Regions from separate parts of the Homo sapiens genome. Here region 2 is linked to region 1. The links are contacts of gene promoters, found by promoter capture Hi-C in human tissues and cell types (Jung and others, 2019). All regions are on one chromosome and are shown on one strand. Each heading gives the region's core, a stretch centred on a gene start or on the middle of the fragment in contact. The rest is flanking DNA. Distances are from core to core; before and after follow the strand shown. Region 1 holds the start of ECM1 (extracellular matrix protein 1). Region 2 holds the start of PRPF3 (pre-mRNA processing factor 3).

Region 1 (4,776 bases), core at 2,173-4,672:
GTGGAAAGACTGTTGGGAGTGCTGGCAGAAAGCTGCGGGGGGAAATGGTGAGACCTCTGACCTGGATTTCTGTTCTGGCCCCAAACCGGATAGTTATGCTCCAGATCCTGTCCCCCTTCATATGCCAGCCTCTTTCCTTCTCAAGTCTGCTCCATACAAGCACACTTCTGGCCAGAGCCAGAGTGACTAATTTGCCATCACCTGTTCTTTCCCTACCAGGCCACTGTGGCTGTCCCCGTTCCAGGTGGTGGTCATCCCTGTGGGGAGTGAGCAAGAGGAATACGCCAAAGAGGTAAGGAGTTGAGGTAAGGGAGGGGGCAGAAGCAGGTCCAGTAGAGAGTCTGGTGCCCTGCAGTGGGCAGGAAGAGGCTGCAGGGGTGGTAGAGGAAGGAGCACAGCCCTCACAGCCACAAGACTGGGCTCGAGTGGCTGCTGTCCTAGATGCTGGAAATCCTGTATCTAAAAAATGTGACTAATGCCTACCTTGTAGAGATGTATGAAAATTAAACAAATTAACAAATGTTGAAAGCCACCAAAAGAGCACTTGGCACAAAACTGGGATTGAGTACACAGTTTTATTTTTCCTTTCTAGAGAGAATTGAGGATATGGATGGTACCAGAGTCAAACAGCTGGTTGGGTAGAGCAGTGGCTAGAAGGCAAAGTCCACGGAATAACTGGGGGGTCATCTCCAGTAGGAGGCAGAAAGATTGTGGGGTTGGGGATGAATGGGGAGGAGGCCTCAATGTGGAGATGAAATGAGGAGAGGTTGCTGGTAAGAAGTGGAGAGCCCCGAGGCAGGGAAAGGAGGAACAGATGGGGGCATTGAGGGAAAAGAGCATCAGACTGTTCTAGCTCCTTAACTTTCCAGTAAATTAACTTCCTGTCACCAAACCTCTGTTGCAGGCACAGCAGAGCCTGCGGGCTGCAGGACTGGTCAGTGACCTGGATGCAGACTCTGGACTGACCCTCAGCCGGAGAATCCGCCGGGCCCAGCTTGCCCACTACAATTTTCAGTTTGGTAAGCTGAACCTCAGAGCCAATGTTCTCCCACCTGCCGTCTGCATTCTTGCTGTTAAGTTTACCAAGTCTGGTAATGCATATTTGGGTTAATTGGGGCTCATTACCTGAGCAGGTAGGAGCCAGGATTCAGGACACCTGACTCATTTGGGCCCTGTGTTCCTTCACATTGCCCTGCCCTCCCCATAACCACTTCTGACACTCAAAATAGTTTTCCTCTTTTTAACTCCACTCTAGCTGTTGGTGTCTGTTAGGTTAATTAACCAAGGGAGCATCAGAGAGAAAGGGACGGGAGGGTTAATACAGCGTTAATTACCCTTGTTTATTTTAGACCTAGATGGAATCAGCCCTAAGGGATGAGGAGAAAGGCCTTAGGGAGAAAATTCTGGCACTGCCATGCTCCCTTTTTCATTTTCCAGGGTTCAGGGCTCTATCTCAAAGGTGAGGAGCAGAAACTCCTCAGCCAGATTACCTGATTCTTGAGTTTTGCACACCCCACTCTCCCTACAAGCACCCAGAGCAAGCTGTGCTGCAATCCCAGGGACTTGTACATGGCCCCTTTCCCTCCCTTACCGCCCAGTCAGCCCCTGCATACATCCTCCTCAGCAGAGGCCCCTCACTCTGTGAATCCAGCCCTAACAGACACCAAGAGCCAGAGTGGGACTGATGAGAGGAAACTGTTCTAAGGGTCAGAGTGGTTGGGGGGAGGCGGGGCAGTGTGAAGGCCACACCACTCCTGCCACCTTCCACTTGCTCTAATACCCCCTTCAGACACGCGCGCGCACACACACACACACACACACACACACACAGTTTCTCTCTGTGGGGTTCTCATTGTTTGTCTTTCTCTGCTTGACTCTAATGTCTCTGACACACACACACACACACACACACACACACACAGTTTCTCTCTGTGGGGTTCTCAGTGTTTGTCTTTCTCTGCTTGACTCTTATGTCTCTGACCCTGGGGCTCTTGACCAGAAGCGATAAGGCCTGCGGGGACTGAAGCACTTCCTTGTCTCCTCAGGATGAGCAGGACTGGTCATTTAGTATTAGCAGACACAGCTGAATACTTCCTTTCTGTGAACCATATCTGGGCTCTGCTCCCACCCTTCCTAAAGATTTAGGTCTCTCAAGTTTCTGCAGAGCAAAAGAAACTGTTCCATGTGGGTGAATTTGCCCTGAGGTTCCCAAACTTCCTCTACCTGCAGTGGTTGGCCAGAAAGAGCAAAGTAAGAGAACAGTGAACATTCGGACTCGAGATAATCGTCGCCTTGGGGAGTGGGACTTGCCTGAGGCTGTGCAGCGACTGGTGGAGCTACAGAACACGAGGGTCCCAAATGCCGAAGAAATTTTCTGAGCCTTTGTACATAGATGAGGCAAAAACCTGCGAGTGCCATCAGCCTCCCTCACATGGGAGACCCCAACCCAGCTGACAATGTGGAGCCCCCAGAACTTCAGAACTGTGTGGAGGCACATGTCTGCTCTCCTGAAAAGAGACTTGGTTTGGGGACCCCACAAAAGGAGGGAAGCTGTAGCTGTTTGGATGTGAGGAGAATGAAACTACAAAAAAAAATAAATTGGGCCAGGCGCAGTGGCTCATGCCTGTAATCCCAGCACTCTGGGAGGCTGAGGCGGACGGATCATGAGGTCAGGAGATCAAGACCACCCTGGCTAACACGGTGAAACCCTGTCTCTACTAAAAATACAAAAAATTAGCCGGGCATGGTGGCACACGCCTGTAATCCCAGCTACTCAGGAGGCTGAGGCAGGAGAATCGCTTGAACCCGGGAGGTAGAGGTTGCAGTGAGCTGAGATTGCGCCACTGCACCCCCCTAGGCGACAGAGCGAGACTCTGTCTCTAAATAAATAAATAAATAAATAAATACAAACTGGAAGCTGCTGGTCATATGTCTTCATCTCTGACTCTGGAGAGGTGGGATAAAAGGATGTTCCACTTTGTCTCCCTCTTTTTTGTCCCAGAGAGTTAGGGAAATTGAAAAGGGACAGTCCAGACCTCACACTGGTAGGGGAGATCCCTTGGATAGGTTTCCTGCTCCCCGCTGTAAACTCCTTTGTGCCCTGTTTCCCCAACCCCAGTTCATGAGTTGGCAGATCCCCTCTCCACAGAAGGCAGCCTGTAGATGGAGAAACTGAGGCACAAACTAGGGGCTCAAACACCTCTTGCTCCTGGATTCTCTGAATCAGTTTCTCTTGAAGGTCATAAGAATGTTCTCCTCTAATCAGTCCCATTCTTCTCAATCCTCTGAGGAGGCTTCAGGGTGACTTTGGGAGGAGTGGCTTCCAGAGGAGGAGCAGCTGGGACTGAGTCATGGCAGGAAGCTGAGGAGGGCGGGAGATCACACCAGACAATTATAAAAGAAGAGCTGGTCCTGAAGCTCACAACCGTAACAGCCACCAGACAAGCTTCAGTGGCCGGCCCTTCACATCCAGACTTGCCTGAGAGGACCCACCTCTGAGTGTCCAGTGGTCAGTTGCCCCAGGATGGGGACCACAGCCAGAGCAGCCTTGGTCTTGACCTATTTGGCTGTTGCTTCTGCTGCCTCTGAGGGAGGTGAGTTGGGGGATCAGCACTTAGGAGGGGGTCTGGGCTTGCATGGCAGGGGTCTGGGTCCAGGCATCCCAGACGGCTCATCACTAGCAGAGTGATTCTCCGTTTGGCTTTCCTTTTCTGAGCAGGCCCAAAGTGGGCCTAGGCCAGTGGAGCCTTTAACCAAGGAGGCAGAGAGCAGGGGCACAGAAGGAGAGGGGTTCCTAGAAACTGCTGCCAAGAAACACAGAATCCCAGTCAAATAGACAACTGAGTGGGGGGTGGGTTCACAGAGTGAGGGTCTCCTGCTGATGAGGATGTAGGGAGGTGGCTGGTGGGAGAGGCAAGGGAGGGAAAAGGGGCCCCCAGGCTGCTCAAAACCGGATTGCTGGCCCAGCAAGCCTCGACTGACTCCCTGTCTGATTAGAGGAGTTGAGGGGTGTCCATCCACAGACCCACCCTCCATCCAGCACAAACACATTCTTTATCTGCTTTGATGCCTGAACAAAACAGGAACCCCTCAATGCTATGGGTGGAAACTAAGAAAAAAAGGAAAAGAAAAGGAAAAAAACCACCCAGGGCACTCCTGCAGGAAGCTGCTGAGGATGTCAGCAAATCTGTCCACTTCTCTGTGAAGCCCCATGCCATCATTCTTCCCAGCTCCTGGTCTTTTGTGTCTGCAGATCACCTACAAGTGACCCTTCCCTGTGCCTGTCCCAGTCCCCCAGGCCCTAAATTGAGACCTAAACTAAGGCGGAGCTGAGACTGGCTGAAGGGGAAGCACTCAACCTTCAGGAAGCCTCCTTAACCAAAGGCCTAAAGATGTTTCAAGGGCCTGGAGTAGGAGGGTGGGTGGAGGAGGTGGATTGGGTAGGCTCCAACCAGCTCAAGGTCCAGACTTTTTCCTCTGAAAGCTAGAGACGCATCCCAGCAGAGACTGGGGAGGACAACCCACAGCCCTGAGGGAAAGACTGGCAGAGGAAATGAGGGCCTCCCTCCCCAATCCCGTATGCCATACTCCCTTTAGGCCCAACCTCTGAGCCAGTAGAGGTGGAGCTATCAGACCGCCACAGGCTTTCTCAGAACCCAGCTGGTCATGTCTAGGTGTGTTGGGGCTGGGAGAGGATTAGGGGACACGGGGCAGGTGAATACAGAGGGGCATCTCGTGTCTTGCTTGTCTGTCCTACACTCTTGATCTCCACAGCCT
Region 2 (5,003 bases), core at 1,022-3,521, 190 kb before region 1:
TGGCCTCGTGATCTGCCCACCTCGGCCTCCCAAAGTGCTGGGATTACAGGCGTAAGCCACCGCGCCCGACCCTCTATTCTCTTTTGTTGGTTTACCTGCCTGTTCTTACGCCAGTACCACACTGTGTCTTACACATTACATTTAATCCTCACGATACCTTTTTGAAGTAGAGATTCTTATTCTATAATTGAGGAAACAATCTCAGAAAAAATTACCTGAAGGAAACACAGCTAGTAACCGGAAAGCTACAGTTTAAATGTATCCAATTCTAAAAATTGGAAATAAAATCAGTTTTGTTTTGTCGAGATGGAGTCTCCCTCTGTCGCCCAGGCTGCAGTGCAGTGGCGCGATCTTGGCTCACTGCAACCTCCACCTCCCGGGTTCAAGCAATTCTCCTGCCTCGGCCTCCTGAGTAGCTGGGATTACAGGTGCCCACCACCACACCCAGCTAATTTTTGCATTTTTTTTAGTAGGGATGGGGTTTCACCATGTCGGCAGACTGGTCTCAAACTCCTGACCTCAAGTGATCCACCCGCCTCGACCTCCCAAAGTGTTGGGATTACAGGCGTAAGCCACCACACCTGGCCTAAAACCAGTTTCTAGAAACACATTTCTCCATAGGGAATTGAACGCAGACTGTTAGAAGCACCAAAACAAAATAAATTTACAACAACCCTGCAATGTTGAAACTCATTAACCCATTCAACAGACTTTTTGAGTGAATATTTTGTGAGACATTGGTGTTAGAAGCTGTAGGTGGGGAAACTGATTTGTGAATAAGTTGAGCAGTAGGTTCAAACTCCCCCAACTTGTTCCTTCAGAGCCAGGCTTTATCCTGTTATGTCGTGCTGCCCCATCAGGGAAGGTGGGGCTTGGTATGTACATTGTTATCTTTAGATACAAAAATCTCCTACTATCTGGGGAATGTGAATAACCTCCCTGAAGAACAACTGCATCTTCTAGTCAGCCTACCACCAAGAAGACATTTTGGAACTTTAGTTTGGATAGTTTATAATATAAAAATAATGGAATTTTTTCCATTTCTCATATAAGAAATTGTGTCATAATACTGGACAATCTTTTTCCAAACTATCTTTGTCCACACACATGTTGTTATGAATCATCGATTTAAAGAGTCAGTAGGGGCCGGGCGCGGTGGTTCAACCCTGTAATCCCAGCACTTTGGGAGGCCGAGGTGGGCGGATCACGCGGTCAAGAGATGGAGACCATCCTGGCCAACATGGTGAAACCCCGTCTCTACTAAAAATACAAAAGTTAGCTGGACGTGGTGGTCGCGCGCCTGTAGTCCCATCTACTCGGGAGGCGGAAGTTTCAGTGAGCCGAATGCACTCCAGCCTGACGACAGAGCGAGACTCCGTCTCAAAAAATAAAAAATAAAAATAAAAAATAAAGGGTCAGTAGGTTAGAGCCTCATTTTGGAGAGAAGTTAATATATAGACCTATTGATAGAATGGAGAAAACAATACTGGTAGGTCTCACTTGTCATTTATTGAGCCCAAAGTGCTGGGATTACAGGCGTGAGCCACGGCGCCCGGCCTGACACCACTGTTAAATTAGGGAGAAAGGGTTTACTTTCTACCAGAAAGGCTGTGTTTGAACACAAACGCAGAAGCCTCGCTCTTCATTCTAGCCTAAGTTTACTTTTGCGCACTTATTCTCCATATGAGGAAAACAGCAAGTAGCCCAATTTCCGCTTCAGGAAGTTAAAGACATTAACTTGGCAGAAATCGGCCGGGCGCGGTGGCTCACGCCTGTAATCCCAGCACTTTGGAAGGCTGAGGCGGGCGGATCACGAGGCCAGGAGATCGAGACCATCCTGGCTAACACGGTGAAACCCCGGCTCTACTAAAAATACAAAAAATCAGCCGGGCGTGGTGGCGGGCGCCTGTAGTCCCAGCTACTCGGGAGGCTGAGGCAGGAGAATGGCGTGAACCCGGGAGGCGGAGCTCGCAGTGAGCCGAGATCGCGTCACTGCACTCCAACCTGGGCGACAGAGCGAGACTCCGTCTCAAAAAAAAAGCTAAAAAAAAAACCTTGGCAGAAATCTAGCTAATAGGTTTAGCCTGGGAAATAGAAAGCAAGGAAATTGCTCAGGGAAACTTTTCGGTTCTGCGACGCATGCGTTCAGCCTCCAAGAAAGTGGCAAATACGGCTGCGCGAATTGGCGGCCCGGCCCTCCTTGGTCACGTGTTGGGAGACAGCGGCGTGGCGGCGGCGGTGGCGGTAGCGACGGCACGCCGTAGGGCGGTCAGAAGGTTTCCGGTTCCGGTGTAACGTTCGGGCTCCGTCTCAGGGGCTGAAGTTTGTGAGGTGAGTAGTGGCCCCGGGCCCACAGAGGGTAATTCCAGTCCGCGCCACTGTGGCCGGGGACTCAGTCCAAGGGGAGGACCGAAGCGGGAGGGTTCAGCGGGAAGGAGTGTGAAAGGAGTACCTGGTTTGGTGGGAGAAGAGGTTGGAATGAGATTGTTGAGAGGAAAAGGGCGGGGGCGGGAAGGAGACCGGGTTGGGAGACCAGCTCTGGGGTGAGGAGTTTAGGTAGAACAAGGTAGAGTAAGAGACTGGTTGGAGTGACGGAGAGAGTAAAAATGAAGATTAGCGGGGGAGTGGGGGGCTGCAGAGGGAAACTCAGGTTGTAGCAAACAAGAGCACGGAGTAAGGAATTCCTTCTGAAGACTGGATTTGGATTCTGCTGCCTGCTCATTGAGAGGAGAGATCATTGTACCTCGCTTTCCTTCCGCACCCCCACTACCCCCGCACCTCGCAGTTATTGTTGAGCATTTGATTAGTGACAAGGCTAATTACCGTTTGAAACTTTTTTATCCATTGGCTGTTTAGTTTGCACGTCATCTTATGGAGGTAACAGTGGCACCTCATTTATTGCTTTGGGCTTTCAAATTGCTTATACTTTCTAGCCTATCATTCAATTCTAGTGGAATATAAGACCCGTTAAGGTGAGGACTCTTGTTAGTTTTGCTCACTGTTTTATGTATCCACCGCACCTAGTACATTGCTTGACACTTAGTAGTTACTCAATAAATATTTATTGAATGAATTAGGATGTAAATATGGCAGTACTCATTTTGTAAGATGGTAAACTGTGGCTCCAAAGAATTACTTAACTTGCCCAAGGGCTTGTAAATGGTGGGGCTCAGTGTCCCAACTGTTTCTGTGTGAACTCTTGTTTTCACTTTCTATGGCATCTGGATATGCCGCTTTTGTGCAATACATGTGTAATATGTAGAAATTGGTACGCTGTATGTCTACTCATTGTGGGGTAATAGAACCACCATAGAATTACTCACGTAACTTGTCACTGAGGCAGAAAATCTTTCAGTCTTAGTTTCATCACTTCAATCTACTAGCTTCCTTTGGATATACCAAAAGTGAGTCTATTTGGCATCAAGTCTTATAGACTCTAGTATAGAGGCTAAACTTACCAAGAATGTAGAAGTTAATCAGACTGGATTTTTTGGAGAAAAGATGTCTTAAAACATCTTGAAAGATGATTCCCAGATCTTTGATAAGTGGCACTGCTGGGAATAGCTGAGCTTGGAAATTGAGGTCAGTCAATTTATTGACTCCCATTTAGACACCTTTTTTTTTTTTCCCCGGGACGGAGTCTTGCTCTGTCGCCCAGGCTGGAGTGCAGTGGTGCGATCTCGGCTCACTGCAACCTCCGCCTTCCATGTTCAAGGGATTCTCCTGTCTCAGCCTCCAGAGTAGCTGGGATTACAGGTGCAGGTCACCACGCCCAGCTAATATTTGTATTTTTAATAGGGATGCGGTTTCACCATGTTGGCCAGGCTGGTCTCGAACTCCTGACGTCAGATAATCCACCCGCCTTGGCCTCCCAAAGTGTTGGGATTACAGGCGTGAGCCACCGCACCTGGCTTTTTTTTTTTTTTTTTTTTTTTTGGAGACACAGTTTCACTCTGTCGCTCAGGCTGGAGTGCACATGATTTTGGCTCACCGCAACCTCCGCCTCCTGGGTTCAAGTGATTTTCCTGCCTCTGCCTCATAAGTAGCTGGGATTACAGGTGCCCACCACCTCACCTGGCTAATTTTTGTATTTTTAGTAGAGACAGGTGCAGTGGGTCACGCCTGTAATCCCAGAACTTTCGGAGGTCAAGGTGGGCAGATCACTTGAGGTAAGGCATTACCTGGCCGATATGGTGAAACCGTGTCTTTATTAAAACTACGAAATTGGCCAGGCGTGGTGGTGCATGCCTGTAGTCCCAGCTACTTGGGAGGCTGAGGCAGGAGAATCAAGTGAACCCAGGAGATGGAGGTTGCAGTGAACCAAGATTACGCCACTGCACTCCAGCCTGGGCGACGGAGTGAGACTCTGTCTCAAAATAAAAATGAGGGTATTCTTTTCTGAGCTGAAGGATCATCAAGTCAGCTGATGGAGACCCTGTAGATTGAACATGATAATTACCTGTATGCAGAATTCCCACTGGGATGAATATGACCACAGAGAAATGTGACAGAACATTCTTTTTTTTTTTTTTTGAGACGGAGTCTTACTCTGTTGCCCAGGCTGGAGTGCAGTGGCGCGATCTTGGCTCACTGCAACCTCTGCTGCCTGGGTTCAAGTGATTCTCTTGTCTCAGCCTCCCGAGTAGCTGGGATTACAGGCGCCTGCCACCATGCCCAGCTAAATTTTTTTGTAGTTTTTAGTAGAGATGGGGTTTCACCATCTTGGCCAGGCTGGTCTTGAACTCCTGACCTCGTGATCCACCTGCCTCAGCCTCCCAAAGTGCTGGGATTACAGGCGTGAGCCACCGCGCCCGGCCAGAACATTCTTAAAGATCATGAGATTTAATTTAATATCTAAGATGACTGACCTGGATAAACCCTCTTTTACTTGCATACCTTAAAAGAAGGGAATCCTACATAAGTCAGGGTTGGGTTAGGGAATGCCTGCCTGGAAGTAGGAAGAATGGAAAAGCTGGCCTCTGGATGGGCTTTTTTAGTTCTGT

Evidence for each region. Contacts are between HindIII fragments. The study calls those that stand out against the background at their distance.
Region 2: the fragment with the promoter of PRPF3 here is called in contact with the fragment with the promoter of ECM1 in region 1 in 1 of the 25 tissues and cell types used here (liver).

What each region holds. Positions count from the first base shown.
Region 1 is chr1:150,504,687-150,509,462 of GRCh38, forward strand. ECM1 (extracellular matrix protein 1) reads left to right here and starts at 3,423. Exons shown (of 10, transcript NM_004425.4): 1 at 3,423-3,593. The coding sequence starts at 3,524. TARS2 (threonyl-tRNA synthetase 2, mitochondrial) reads left to right here. Exons shown (of 18, transcript NM_025150.5): 15 at 1-47; 16 at 220-292; 17 at 905-1,019; 18 at 2,230-2,916. The coding sequence ends at 2,378. The HindIII fragment of the contact is 11,585 bases long and covers 1-4,776 here.
Region 2 is chr1:150,319,262-150,324,264 of GRCh38, forward strand. PRPF3 (pre-mRNA processing factor 3) reads left to right here and starts at 2,272. Exons shown (of 16, transcript NM_004698.4): 1 at 2,272-2,331. RefSeq lists enhancers at 1,386-1,951, 2,081-2,130, 2,321-2,370. The HindIII fragment of the contact is 24,557 bases long and covers 1-5,003 here.